Regions from separate parts of the Homo sapiens genome. Here region 2 is linked to region 1. Evidence: promoter capture Hi-C in 16 types of primary human blood cells and fetal thymus (Javierre and others, 2016). All regions are on one chromosome and are shown on one strand. Each heading gives the region's core, a stretch centred on a gene start or on the middle of the fragment in contact. The rest is flanking DNA. Distances are from core to core; before and after follow the strand shown.

Region 1 (7,094 bases), core at 2,673-5,172:
TGGTAAATAGCCCAGAGGTCTTGCACTAGCTGGTATGACCCGTCTGACTTCCTTACAGGCAATATTGGAGTGTTATAAGGGGACATACAGGGTTCAAGTCTTTCAATTACAGGTTTTAAAACTATCCTGGTTTTAAACCTATCCTGGCTTCCAAGGGAATAGGGTATTGTTTTCGTGGACAAGGCTTTCAATTATAGGTTATAAACCTATCCTGGCTTCCAAGGGAATAGGGTATTGTTTTTGTTTCACTATTTCCCCAGGAGTTTTTAATTTGACATGGATTGGAGGAACCCATCCTCGATTCCCTTCTTTCGACCATACGTTGGGATGGATGCGGCTTTCTTCTGAAGTGGTGAGTACGTTTAAGGAAGTAAGGAGTTTTCCTTGATTAACATATAGGCCTGTGCCTAACCTTAACATTAAGTCCCTTCCTAATAAATTAGTTCCTGCTTCAGGAATTAAGAAGAACTTAGTAGCAACCGACTTATTCTTATATTTGACTTCGGTTTCCTCTAGAATTTTTGCTCTGAATCCTTCCCCTTTAACTCCTGAGACAGTAAGGTCTTCGGCTGAACAGGATAAATCTGATGGGAGAAAACATAGGCAGGAGCCAGCTGCTCCCGAATTGACCAGGAAAGTGACTATTTCCAATTTGGGTCCCACCGTTAAATTTATCAAGGGCTCTTGGTGGGACTCAAGATGGAAGACGTAGAGCCCCTGAGCCCACTGTTCTTCAAATGTCATGAGTGAAAGGACTTTCTTTTCCCTCTCCCATTCGGGACATTTCCTCTTAAAATGTCCTGGCTTTCCACATCTGAAACATCTGTTTTTCCTTCTCCCCCTCCTGGTTCCCTGATTCTCAGGTTTCGTCCCTTTGCTTCCTGTATAGGGTCTGGCAGCCTGGTACTCAGAAGGTTTACAAGTTCTATTTCCCTGGGATGCCTGTTGAAAAGTTCCCTGTTGTAGGGTGGACAGCATAATTTTTGCCTTTTGCTTCTGCCTTTCCTCATCCCTCCGTACATATACCTTTTGGACCTCTCTTTAAAGTTCCTCTATGGGACAGTCTTTCTAATTTTCTATCTTTTATAATTTCTTTATAGTGTCTGGCCAACTATTGGTGACAAAGTGGAGCTTTAACATCCTTTGTCCTAGTGGGTCCTCTATGTCCAAACCTGCGTATTTTCTTATCTGTTCCTTAAGTCTGTTTAAGAATTCCATGGGCCCTTCATCTTTCTCTTGCTGTACATTAAATGCTTGGGAAATGTTTTGGGTTGGAGGAACTGATTCCTGAATCCCTTTAATTATCATATCCCTATCTCTCATGTTTTCCCGGTGAGCCGCACTGTTGTTATCCCATTGAGGGTCCTGGGCCGGGAATTTATGCTCTGCTGCAAGGACATTCTGACGAGGGGGGTGCTTGCGCTCCCAGGCTATCATAGCAGCCTTGCAGATCATGGTTCTTTCCTCTCCTAAGAAGAGAATACCTAGAATAGACATCAATTCAGCCCAGGTATACAGTTGTGGCCCCATAAATTGGTCAATTTGATCTGAGACTCCAAAAGGGTCATCTAACAGTGGTTTGAGTCTCCTTTTTAGATTTCTAACTTCTTCACTAGCTAAGGGGGGCATTTACGAAGCCAATATCCCCTCCTCCTAGTGGTACTTCCCTCAAGGGAAAAAAGGTTGGGGCAGACTTCTTTGAAGAGAGGAAAGGAAAGTTTTGAATATCCCTTTGGCATTGTTCTATTTGCCACTGGAGCTTTCCTAAGGGAGGGGCATGTTCGAGTGGCTGTCCAACGGGGGTGTGTGGTGTCAAGGCCCATGGGGCAGGGTTATATGGGGGAGGGACGGAGTTTTAGCTTGGGGCAGAGGGGTAGGTGCGGGAAGGGCTGTTGTTCAGTCGGGGCGGAGAGGTAGGCAGGGGAAGGTGGTCTAGAGGATCCCGTGCATCTTTGGATATAGAATATGACTTAGCTAGGTCGTCTTTGGGGGGTTTTGAGTTTGGCTTTGCTTTTTCGTCCTTTAAGGGATAGAGAAGGACAGGTCCTTGTCTCCAACATAGAGCATAATCTATCTCCTCTTGAGAAACTGGGCTTTTATCATTGACATACTGGATCAGGAGTTGGCATATCCAGTCCTCGTCCCACCCAAACTTTGGCCAAAAGACCGAAGGTCTGAGGATGGGTTCCTTAGTCCAAATAAAACAGCAGTACTTTATCATTTGCTGTCTTTTCTTGTGTTTGGTCCTTTCATTATCCTTCCAGTATTTTAACATTAGGCCTAGGGGACTGTGAGGGAAATTTTATTGTCTGCTTGGCCTTTTAGAGTCTCTGTCTTACTTGGGGTTATTTCCCATCCTGGAGGTTGGTGAGGCTTAATATATAATATTAGAGATCTCTTGCACTCCCGTGTCTTAGAGGCTCAACCTCCCCTTTTTCCACTGGAGGTTTCTTGCACTCTCGTGAGCACTCACTTCGTCCTTATTGGCTGCTTCCCTTGCGGGAATTTTAGGCACCTCTTAGCATTGGCGGGTAGGTGGAATCCCCTGATTGGAAAACCGCCCTAAGCCGTATGAGGTGACCACGGAACCAAGTCCGGACTCCGCACTCGCCTTGCGCCCAGTGGTATGTCTCACTCACACACTTTAAAACTCCAGAGACCCCAACCACCAAGGAAGGCTTTGCCGCCCCAATAGCAACGTTTCTTACCTTGGTCTGTGCACAGAGTTACCTGTGGTCGCCATGGAATTCTTTTTTTTTTTTTTTTTGAGACGGAGTCTCGCTCTGTTGCCTAGGCTGGAGTGCAGTGGCATGATCTCGGCTTACTGCAACTTCTGCCTCCCGGGTTCAAGTGATTTTCCTGCCTCAGCCTCCCAAGTAGCTGGGACTAAGGGCGCGCACCACCACGCCCGGTTAATTTTTGTATTTTTAGTAGAAACGGAGTTTCACCGTATTGACCAAGCTGGTCTCACAGAATTCTTAAGGATCCTCCCTACTGTCCGCGTTGCTGAGAGTCCGGATTTATTCGTCACTTCGGGCGGGACTCGATCCTCCGCTCCTGGGGCCACCACGAGGCAATGGGACGCGTCTCCCCATGAAAGATAATCGCTAGCCCCTCCCGAAGGAGAATGGGATCCCGGACGAGTCCCTAAGATTTACTGGAAACAAGTGCTTGGTGTAGCCAAAAGAAACCCTCACTTAGAAAATTCCTCAGCAAGGCATCTTTACTTCTGCAGAAGGGTGCTCCTTGCCTGTTACAATTGCAAGAGCACACCAAACAAAGGAGGTAAGGAGTTTTTAATCCTAACGCAGTTCCTGTTTCTGTGTCCTTCCCCTATTGGCTGGGGTTGGACCGCACAATCTAAGCTGATCCCGATTGGCTAAGACTTAAACTTTGGCAAATAGGGTAAACCCTGGATTTGCGAAAAAAAGGAGTGTATGTGTGTGGTGGGGGGCGGGGGGCAGGCAGGATTGACGTACAACTTTTGCAACTTATGACAAGAAAGTTGAGTCTTTGAAGAGGGACTTAGTTGTCCCAACACTCTGAGTTGCCTGACCCGGTCCTGGGCTCAGTTCCTCCCAGATACCGGCGTTTATCATTGGTGTAGATAATGGTGACTTCCCTTGTCTTAGATGTGGGTGTCTTGGTCTTCCCGGGACGGAAGGAGTCAGAGACTCTTGAAAGGAGCCGTCCCGCTGGTCCTTTCATTTACGCCGATGCCAGCCCGGCACTCGAGCATCACCAAGGGCCCGGTGCCCGGCACTGCAGGGCCAAGTCTGATTTTATCGTTTGTGGAGCTGCAAGCTTAGGACGCACAGCTGTGAATTTCGGGTCCTGGTGACTGCGGAACCACCGCGAGGCCAGGAGGCGAGACAGTGCACTTTCCCAGGTTCCCAGGCCTAAGAGCCCACCTGGCTGGAATGGTCTCAAGGAGCAGAGAGGAATCCGCACCCTCCGAGTCCTCCGAACCCTCCGATCCTGCGAACCTGCGGCGGCTCTGCGGTTGGTTCCGTGAGGAACTGGCCGCGATCGCAAGCTTGGAGCTGCTTTTTGGTTTGTTCTGAGTCCTTCACCTGGTGAGGGGAAGGAAGCCCTGCTTGGGGTCGTTGAATCTGAGTTTTCTCCAGTCAGAATCAGTGGTTTGAGATTGTTTTCCCTGAAACAGCATGGTTTTCCTGTGCCTACAGTGAGGAATTCTCCTTTTCTTAAAAAAAAATATATTTTATTAATAAAAGGGAAAGTAACGCTTCTATTACAAAAAAAAAAAAATTCAGCGGGCATGGATCAGGTATGATTTAAATAAACATAAGAAAAGACCCTCCCACCAAGGAGGCCGGTTAGCTCAGTTGGTTAGAGCGTGGTGCTAATAACGCCAAGGTCGCGGGTTCGATCCCCGTACGGGCCACTTCCGTGGGTTTGTTTTTTTTTTTTTTCTTCTTTTTCGTTTTTATTTTACACCGACCACACCTCGCTTGTAAACTTCGGTTTTACATCGAACTCCGTAGCCTCGCCTATCCATTTATAAATGTAGTTGCACTAGCTAGACAGGAATTTTTTTCTTTTTTCTTTTTTTTTTTTCTTAAATCGACCACACCTGGATTGTATACTACCGTCTTACATCCAACTCCGGAGCGCTGCCTATCCATTTGTAAATGTGGTCGCAATAGCTAGACAAGCATTAGATTTGCACGTTTTTTATTCTTTTGAAGAAATAATATACGAGTTAGGATGAAAAGGTTTTTCTTATTTGTTTGTTTTGTTTGTTTTTGAGACAGAGTCTTGCTCTGACGCCCAGGCTGGAGTGCAGCGGCGCGATCTTGGCTCGCTGCAACCTCCGCCTCCCAGGTTTAAGCAATTCTTCTGCCTCAGCCTCCCAAGTAGCTGGGATTACAGGCGTGTGCCACGATGCCTGGGTAATTTTTGTATTTTCAGTAGAGACGGAGTTTCACCATGTTGGCCAGGCTAGTCTTGAACTCCTGACCTCAGGTGATCCGCCTGCCTTGGCCTCCCAAAGTGCTGAGATTACAGGCATGAGCCATCGCGCCCGGCCAGGATGAAGATTTTTTAAAGGAAATTCAATGAGGTGGGTGGGTGATTTTAGAAAAGGGTTAAATAAGAATTCGATAATGTCTTGTATTATTTTGGGAAAAAAAAACTTTCTGAGATAATACTATTTTGACATATTTTAAGCTTTTGAAAGAGATCATATTGATTCTTCTCCTAGTTGATCACTCAGTTGGTTAAATTGTTGTGTTTGTAGCTTTGAGGGCGAGGGTTCAGTCTACGTGGGAAAAAGCCAGACTTGTGACGTTGCTTTCTGCCAAGCTCCAGACACTCAGCCACAACTGCTCAGTGTTAAAATAGATCCGTGGTTAGCCTTAGGCTTATATTTGACAGCTGTTCTCGATGTGGCCCATACCAAGCCATTTACGATGCGGCCCTTACCAAGCCATTTACAGTTCATTAAACAATTTTTGAACATATATCGTAAAAGCGATAGGTTTGAAATGTGACAAAAATGGAGTGCGTGGTGGGAGACAGGAGGGCCAGAGCCTCTGGGTCCACTCTAAGTCTTAGCACCTCGCTCTTTCTGTCCTGCGCTTTCTTTTTTTTTTTCTTTTTTTCTTTTTCTTTTTTTTTTTTTTTTTTGAGACGGAGTCTCGCTCTGTCGCCCAGGCTGGAGTGCAGTGGCGCAATCTCGGCTCACTGCAAGCTCCGCCTCCCGGGTTCACGCCATTCTCCTGCCTCAGCCTCCCAAGTAGCTGGGACTACAGGCGCCCGCCACTACGCCCGGCTAATTTTTTGTATTTTTAGTAGAGACGGGGTTTCACCGTTTTAGCCGGGATGGTCTCGATCTCCTGACCTCGTGATCCGCCCGCCTCGGCCTCCCAAAGTGCTGGGATTACAGGCGTGAGCCACCGCGCCCAGCCCTGTCCTGCGCTTTCTTGGAGTCTGGTCACTGGGTCCCCGTGTGCCTGGCACGTGTCTCATTTACATTTCTTCCTTCACTCTTCATCCTCCCAACATATTTTTACCCTTCTCTTATTTTAAAACATGGGTTGCTATGAAAATGACATTAACAATATTGATAAATAATGAGGTAAATAATGGCTCAAAAACAGCGCCAAGGACATAGTGGGCGAATCACAAAGGGAAGGGGCTCCCTCTGTTTTGCTCAGTGCTGTGATTTTTCACGTCAAAAACAGTAAGTAGCTCAAAGTCAGCGACTGAAAAAGATTTCTTTAGAATAAATTAATGAAGAGTACCTACTACTTAGTCCATTGTATATTAGATGATATATACAGATTTAAGTATAAGAAGGATTCCACAGGTAGTTGCTGACTTTGAAAACGAAGGGAGCCACCAGCCAGAGAACTCAGGCATCTGCTAGAAACTGTGAACAACCTGTAAACCGTTATCTCAGTCCTACAGCTGCAGGGAACTGAATGCTACTGACAACCTGAGTGAGTTTGAAAACGAATTCTCCCCTAGAGCCTCCATGAGGAACATGGCCGGGCCTGCTGACGTTTTGGTATTAGTTTGATGACACCCTGCCAGACTTATAACGCACAGAACTGTGTGATAATGAATGGATGTTGTTTTAAGCTATTAAATTTGTGGTAGTTTGTTAAGGAAGTAATAGAAAAACTAACAAAACAAGAAATTGTTAACCCACCCACACTTCCTACTATCTATCCTGGGTTATCTTCCTCTCTTCAGTGCAGTGTAAGATGAAATATGGTTTCAAAATGAGGGACAATAATTTTCAACATCAACACAGTAAGAATGAAAAAAAAGAGGGAGCTTCTTAGGATCCATTAAAAATTAAGGATATAGATATGCATATATATGAAAAGTTAATACATTCACATAAACAGTAACTAAAAGTGAAGATTTTCTTCTTCCTCATAACCCACATCTGCTCAGTTCTCAGCACTACCTCCTATATATGACAATTCTTCTTAGTTTCCTATGTATTCTCCTTAGTGTTCTTTGTGCAATAGGTGCAAATATACATAATACATTTTACTTTTCCTTTCTACTTATGTAAAATATAACATTATACACACTATTTTACATTCTGCTTTTTTCAC
Region 2 (7,094 bases), core at 1,760-4,259, 950 kb after region 1:
ATGTTGCTTTGTCACCCAGCCTAGAGTGGAGTGGCATAGTCTCAGTTCACTGCAGCCTCTGCCTCCTAGGTTTAAGTGATTCTCCTTGCCTCAGCATCCCAAGTAGCTGGGATTACAGGCAAGTGCCACCATGCCCGGCTAATTTTTGTATTTTTTTAGTAGAGACGGGGTTTATCCATATTGGCCAAGCTGGTCTTGAACTCCTGATTTTAGGTGATCTGCCTGGCTTGGCCTCCCAAAGTGCTGGGATTACAGGCATGAGCCACCCTGCCTGGCCTAAGACCCTGTAAATTTTAAAACATCCATTTATTTTATTGTGTATGAAAAATTTAAACATGTTAGTAGCTCTTCCAGGTGATAAAGCCCTCAGGAGTAACTGATGAGGATTCTGCTGAGGCTGTTTATTTAAAACAGTAATGCCTAGTGGGGAAAGTTTTGGCTCCAGCACTATCTGAAATTTTCTTAGTTTCAGTTTTTAAATTTGTTTTTGATAATAGATAACTATTGAACTTACATTTTTGGAGGCTTCATAAAATACTGCATGACTTCTGGCCCATTGCAGCCACTCAATAAGTGTGGATTTTTCCTATTTAGAAAAACTATATATTAAAATTATATAAACTTTATCTAATCTTTTATTTTTGTAAATAGGAATGCACTCAATGTTAAATTCTGTTCAGTAATCTTTTATTTTACATCTCAACTTGACTAAATTTCCAGAGGCTTTGTTTTAGGCAAATGACCATGCTAGATGTTCTGGTGGATTTAATGATATAAAAAGATGCATTCTGTGCCCACCAAGTCCAAGTCCTCACGTACTGAATTCCAGTAGCTGTAAGAGAAATACAGGTTAAAACTTGTTGAGCTAGAATCTTAAAGAAAGTACAGGATACAGGAAACAACATTCAAATAGAGAATGCTTCTATCTAGCATAATAGGATGTTCACTATGTTACAAATATCTGACAGTAGTTACCTTAATTATGGATAGTTAGGCTGTTTTCCTCACGCACTGAATCTCCAATTCACAAGACCCACATCTTCATGTCTGACAGGCTTCCATGAACAAAAATTTCTTCCATAAATCTCCAGGACTTCTTACTATGGCTACCTTGGCCTGCAGAGCTATTTACAGCTTTGTCACTATTAATTTTACCACATGACTAACCTCTTTCCTTAGTGCAACTAGTGGGAAAAGAGCACATTCAAAAAAGTTAGTAGAAATTTCTCAATGAGTTAAAAATACTGCACCCCATATCAAAACTGAGGAATTTGCTGAAATGTTTAAATAAACAAAATTCTTCCAAATAGCATGCAGTATCCCATATAGTACATACACCCTTCTGTATTTCCAAATAACAGCCTGTATGATTTCGTAACAGAATTCCTTATTTTCCTTCCCTTCACCTACCAGTTTCGAAGCTGTGCCTTTGTATGGAAAGGAAAGGCAGAATATTTTCTGTAAGAACTTTGAAGCCGTCCAAGGATTTTCATGTTTTGTTGATAAATATGGGGTACTTTTAATGAGATTTGATTAAGACAGGGTATTTACTAAAGTTGAAAAGTTCTTTTAAGATATCAGCCGGAAGGCCGGGCGAGGTGGCTCATGCCTGTAATCCCAGCTACTCGGAAGGCTGAGGCAGGAGAATCGCTTGAACCCGGGAGGCGGAGGTTGCGGTGAGCCGAGATCGCGCCAATGCACTCCAGCCTGGGCAACAAGGGCGAAACTCCGTCTCAAAATAAATAAATAAATAAATAAATAAATAAATAAATAAATAAATAAGAAAAGAAAAAAGCAAACAAAAGATATCAACTGGAAAGTTGAAAAGGCTCATGATTTCTGCATTTTCCTTTCGCACTCAGGTTTGAGACACACCCATCTGCACCTTCGTTGCTTTGACTCCTGCAGTTTAGAACCTATGCAAGGCTGTCAAGTCTGCAAGAGCTGTGTGTTAGTGCCACGGGTCTAGGTGTTCCAGCTAATAACCTTAGCCTTAGACCAGTATCAGGCGCACAGAGAGTAACGTTGACCGCACCCAAGGCACCGACCGTCGCCGGCAAGTAGCTGGGTCTCAAAACACTAGTGGAGTAAGGCAGCCTGATGCAGATCAAAAGCGCTGGCCCCTCGGGCAAGGTCAAATAAACATCAAGGAAAGGCAAAACCAAGGCGTTGAAAGCCTATGCAGTTAAGACCTAAAATGCAGGCCACCACATGAAAGAGCGTTGAGCCAGAAAACAAGAGGATGGGTTAAGCAGGGTACAATTAAGTGGCCAGGAGTTTAGAAAACGAGAACAATGTACAAGAAAGCAGCAGAGGGCCTGAACAGCAAAACAAAGCCAGCTAAACCAATGGAGAACAGCGTAGGGAGGCCCAGCCCTAGGCGAAAACCTGAGGGAGCGCTTAAATTTGGAAATTTAAATGAAGCATCGAGGGAACTGAATGCCACTATTTCAAATGTCTATTTGGATCAGTGCAGTTTAGTGGTCTAATGCGTCTCAAAGGATTACAGCCCTTTTCACGGACAAAGTGGTTGGCTCTGAGAAGAGCCTTTGGATTTAAGGTTTGTACTCAAAACAATTCACGCCCTCTCCCCACGAATGCGGCGGGCAAGCTGGATGTCTTTAGGCATGATGGTCACGCGTTTGGCATGAATAGCGCACAGGTTGGTGTCCTCGAAAAGCCCCACCAAGTAGGCCTCGCAGGCCTCCTGCAGCGCCATCACCGCGGAACTCTGGAAGCGCAGGTCGGTCTTGAAGTCCTGAGCTATTTCTCGCACCAGGCGCTGAAACGGCAGCTTCCGGATTAGAAGCTCGGTAGACTTCTGGTAGCGACGGATCTCGCGCAGAGCCACGGTGCCAGGGCGGTAGCGATGGGGCTTCTTCACGCCGCCCGTGGCCGGAGCGCTCTTGCGAGCTGCCTTAGTGGCCAGCTGTTTGCGCGGTGCTTTACCGCCTGTGGATTTACGAGCCGTCTGCTTAGTACGCGCCATAGTTCATCTGCAAAGTAAATGAGTTAGGAAGATTGGTTTGCCCCTCTATATAGGAACAGAATCACTCTGATTGGATTGTGGACGATCCCTGTTAGTGATCGGTTGCTAAATTCCGGAAGTGGCCGTAGAGATTCACGATTGGTTTATTTTTTCAGTGCAAGATTCTGATTGGTAAATTTGGATAGAGAACTGGCTCTTTCAAACAAGTCGTTTTCCGTTACAGGTTTCTTTGATGTTTCACGTAGACCATGACCTGCAAAGACATTGATCATTTAACTTAATAGACTGATCTGTTATCCTGTTTAGCTATAAAAAATCGAATGTGTTTGCGTTAGAAAGTGCTTTAGAATTTTTTTTCCAAAATCTCCGCTGCTTTTTTCTGCATTTTCCTGAAGTTTTTCCCTTCCTTATTCACTCATTTAAAATCCGTTGCCTAAGTATCTCTCAATGATTCCTCGTTTCATTATAGAGTACAAGGCTAATTCACTCAAACAAGGTTTTCTAAGATACACTGTTAAGCATAAGGAACTTTGTGTTTCATTTGTGTTATAGTAAAATTCTAATATCCTGGAATCCCTACCTCTGTAATATCGGGTTTGACTCAAAGAACTTAACACTATTATTTCGTTTTGTTGAAATTAAAACGTCCAGACATAATGGCAAGAGCCGTCAAAAAAAGTATTTTCAATTTAAAATCTTGAAAAAGATGGCGGCGAAGAGAGTGTTAGAAGGTTGTTTCTCTGTAAGACAACAATGGCGCAGTTTCTCCGGATCCCTGCGGGAGAGAGCTGAGGTGCACCGAACAATTTAAGACACATCCAACAGAACTTTTATAGGAACTGGACTCACCCAAATAACAGGACTTCTTAACTTGGTTTTCGCTTCCACACTCAACAGCTCCCAATTACTTTGAAAAAGTAACAAATGTTTACTGGAAAAGATTCTTAAAGAATGACATTACAGCCTAACACTATTGTGAATTAACCTATCGGATTCCCTGTAAGGTGTTCTTTTCCTAGCCAATAAAAAGAGCAGTTTGGGAATTCCTAATTTACATACTTTTAATCTATTGGCTACTTTGGTTCAGGCAGAGTTTTGATTTACAAGTTCGCGTTTGTGTAAGCGTACTATAAATATTTCAGAGAGGGATAGTGCGCGTGCGTGCCCGTTGCAAGGTCTAGTTTCTTTTTGTTTTTCTTTCCCAGTAGGTTTTCTTTCTCATTGGAAAGCTATTTTGTAAAGTGTAGCAGGTTCGCAATGACGCTGGCATGTAGTCCAAGGCGATTGACATCATGAATATGCTGGAGCCCCCGTCCTCCAGGGAGGGGAAACGGCTAAACCAAATTTATCACTGCCCGCAAATGCCCGCGGATGTCTGCAAGCTGGAGTGGAGAGGAGACAAAGGATGCTTTGTGCATTCCTGCTCATTCCCTGAATTCTGTTAAACCTGCCCTATTTTAGGGCATTCATCAAAATTCTGCTAACCACAGGATTGATACAATTGCACCTTTCAAGTTAGTGTCTATTTTGCAAATTTGAATTATCTTAGGACTCGTGGGCAAGTCTTGACTGAAATTACACATTGTCGTGCGTTTCAATCTCACATCTGAAATATATATGAGTCCCTTGCTTCTCTCCTTTTCAGAAAAAGAAAATTCTGTACACTTTAAATCACGGTAAAACGGTTAGGTATGTTGGCAAAATTGTTTCATAGGAAGCAAGGGAAGAACTGAAATCCTTTTGTATAATATGATTACGTATTTGTGGGCTGGGCCGTTTGTTAATGAGAGCTATGCACCCCCTGTGCTTTTCCTCTCCACACTCCCTACATCTCATCTTCTGAGGCCCAAGACCTGTTTATTGATATTATCTTCTGTTTTCTCATTTTCATTTTAGTTTTTTCATTTCTATTATTAGAATGTTAATATCTACATCTAAAAAATGTTTCCAAAATCAAAAGATAAACTTTAGGTCACAGTCAGTGAGAACCATTAAGGAAATTCCATCTTTATGCCCCATAGTTCTATTTCCTCCCCAGTGTTCTTAAATCTGTCAATCCGGTGTTTTGCCATTGGAACCTACCTTCAGTTCCTTTCATAATCCTCATCTCTAAATATGTGTAAAGCTTTATTTTAGAAGTCAGTGCAAAATTTACATGATTACATAAGAACTTAGCAGCTCACTTGTATTAATCAGTAATTTCCATCACTATTTCCATACCTGAACACAATTTCCCATAGGATCTGTGTTATGTGATAAAACAGTCAGAAACCAGTTGTGGCTACTGAGCATTTGAAATGTGGTTGTTGCTGCTGAGGACTGACTTTCTTTTTTTTTTGAGAAGGAGTCTTGCTCTGTCACTCAGGATGGAGTGCAGTGGGGTGATCTCAGCTCACTGTTAGCTCCACCTCCCGAGTTTAAGCGATTCTCCTGCCTCAGTCTCCAGAGTAGCTGTAGTTACAGGTGCTTGTCACCATGCCCGGCTTATTTTTTTGGGGGGGGTGGGGTGGAGGTATTTTTAGTAGAAACGGGGTTTCATCATGTTGGCTAGGCTGGTCTCGATTTCCTGACCTTAAGTAATCCATCCACCTCGGCCTCCCAAAGTGCTGGGATTATAGCCGTGAGCCACTGTGCCCGGCCTGAATTTTTATTTTACTTTTCATTATTTTAATTCAAAGGCTGATACTTCAGTTATTGGAAAATGTTAGATATGTTTTAAACAATCAGATATATGAATTTTATTTTTCAGCACTGAAATTTATGAAATCAAAATGAAATTCCATTTATTTCCAACAAAAATGTAATATCAAATTGAATAGGATGTCCCTCATATTTAGAAGACTTAAGATTTAAAAAAGAATGTGAAATATTGCATTAATAATGTTTTTATATTGACTATATTTTGAAATAATTATTTTGTATTTTGTTTTAAATACAATAATTATTAAAATTCTTTTACCTGCTTATTAATTTTTAAAATGTGCTTACTGGAAAATTCAAAATTACATATGTGGCTTGCATTATTCTTTTTTATTTTTATTTTTTTTTTGAGGCAGAGTCTTGCTCTGTCACCCAGGCTGCAGTGCAGTGCTGCCGTCTTAGCTTACTGCAACCTCTGCCTCTCCGGTTCCAGCGATTTTCCTGCCTCAGCCTCCTGAGTAGCTGGGATTACAGGCACCAGCCACCACACCCAGGTAGTTTTGGTATTTTTAGTGGAGATGGGGGGAGTTTCACCATTTTGGCCAGGCTGATCTTGAACTCCTGACCTCAGGTGATCCACCTGCCTTGGCCTCCCAAAGTGCTGGGATTACAAGCATGAGCCACCGCATCTGGCCGTGGCTTGCATTATTCTTTGTAGATAGCACTGTTCCAGGATTCTTCATTTCTCTTCTCTGTTTCTTGATTCTTTACCATATCTTGACAGCATAGGCCTTGAAACAATGAGTACATTCAATATATTTCTATGAACCCAGTTATAGCATCTGGACTTTATTTACAATAAATCAATATCTATATTTATATCTACATCTATATGTCTATACAGTTGTGTTAGAGAGCTAAGGGGGCTTGTTAAGCCATTACTCAATGACGCAAGAAGAGGTGGGCAACTAGCAAAATTATTGATGTTTGAATTTTTCCATAGCAAAATATCAGTAAGTGGACAGTATTTGAAATTCTTTTAGCCGGGCACAGTGGCTCAGTCCGATAATGCCAGTGACCCAGGAGGCTGAGTTAGGAGGATTGCTTGAGGCTAGGAATTTGAGGCTGCAGTGAGTCATAATTGTGAGACTGCAACCCAGTCTGGGCAACAGAGCATGACCCAAAAATGAAAAAAAAAAAACAAAACAAAACAACAAAAAAAGAAATGTTATATGAATATTTTCCCCTCGATCATATATTTTTGAGGGACAGCCTCTACAACTGCTAATTCTGGTGTTTAAAAAAAGGGGAAGAGAAATCACTGTGGAAGCACAATGCCATTTCATGAAAAGAAGAAAGTCCGGAAAATAATTTGCTATTCCTGGAAGCTACATAAGCTCCAAGAAAAACTCGGATGAGAACATCAGGTCAATTACTTTGAAGTCTAAAAAGAATAAAAAGTTAA

What was found. Contacts are between HindIII fragments. The CHiCAGO score rates a contact against its expected background, and 5 or more counts as called.
Region 2: a contact is called between the fragment with the promoter of H3C6 here and a fragment that was not itself captured in region 1, in 2 of 17 cell types (fetal thymus and total B cells). The highest score is 9.0, in fetal thymus.

What each region holds. Positions count from the first base shown.
Region 1 is chr6:27,174,526-27,181,619 of GRCh38, reverse strand. It overlaps TRI-AAT5-2 (tRNA-Ile (anticodon AAT) 5-2), which reads left to right and starts at 4,332; the gene lies at 4,332-4,405. RefSeq lists enhancers at 3,175-3,234, 3,585-3,684, 3,875-4,074, a silencer at 4,277-4,426 and a cis regulatory region at 3,416-4,493. The HindIII fragment of the contact is 232 bases long and covers 3,807-4,038 here.
Region 2 is chr6:26,221,050-26,228,143 of GRCh38, reverse strand. It overlaps H3C6 (H3 clustered histone 6), which reads right to left and starts at 3,009. Exons shown (of 1, transcript NM_003532.3): 1 at 2,528-3,009. The coding sequence starts at 2,989. The coding sequence ends at 2,579. RefSeq lists enhancers at 1,767-2,382, 2,383-2,999. The HindIII fragment of the contact is 11,157 bases long and covers 1-5,116 here.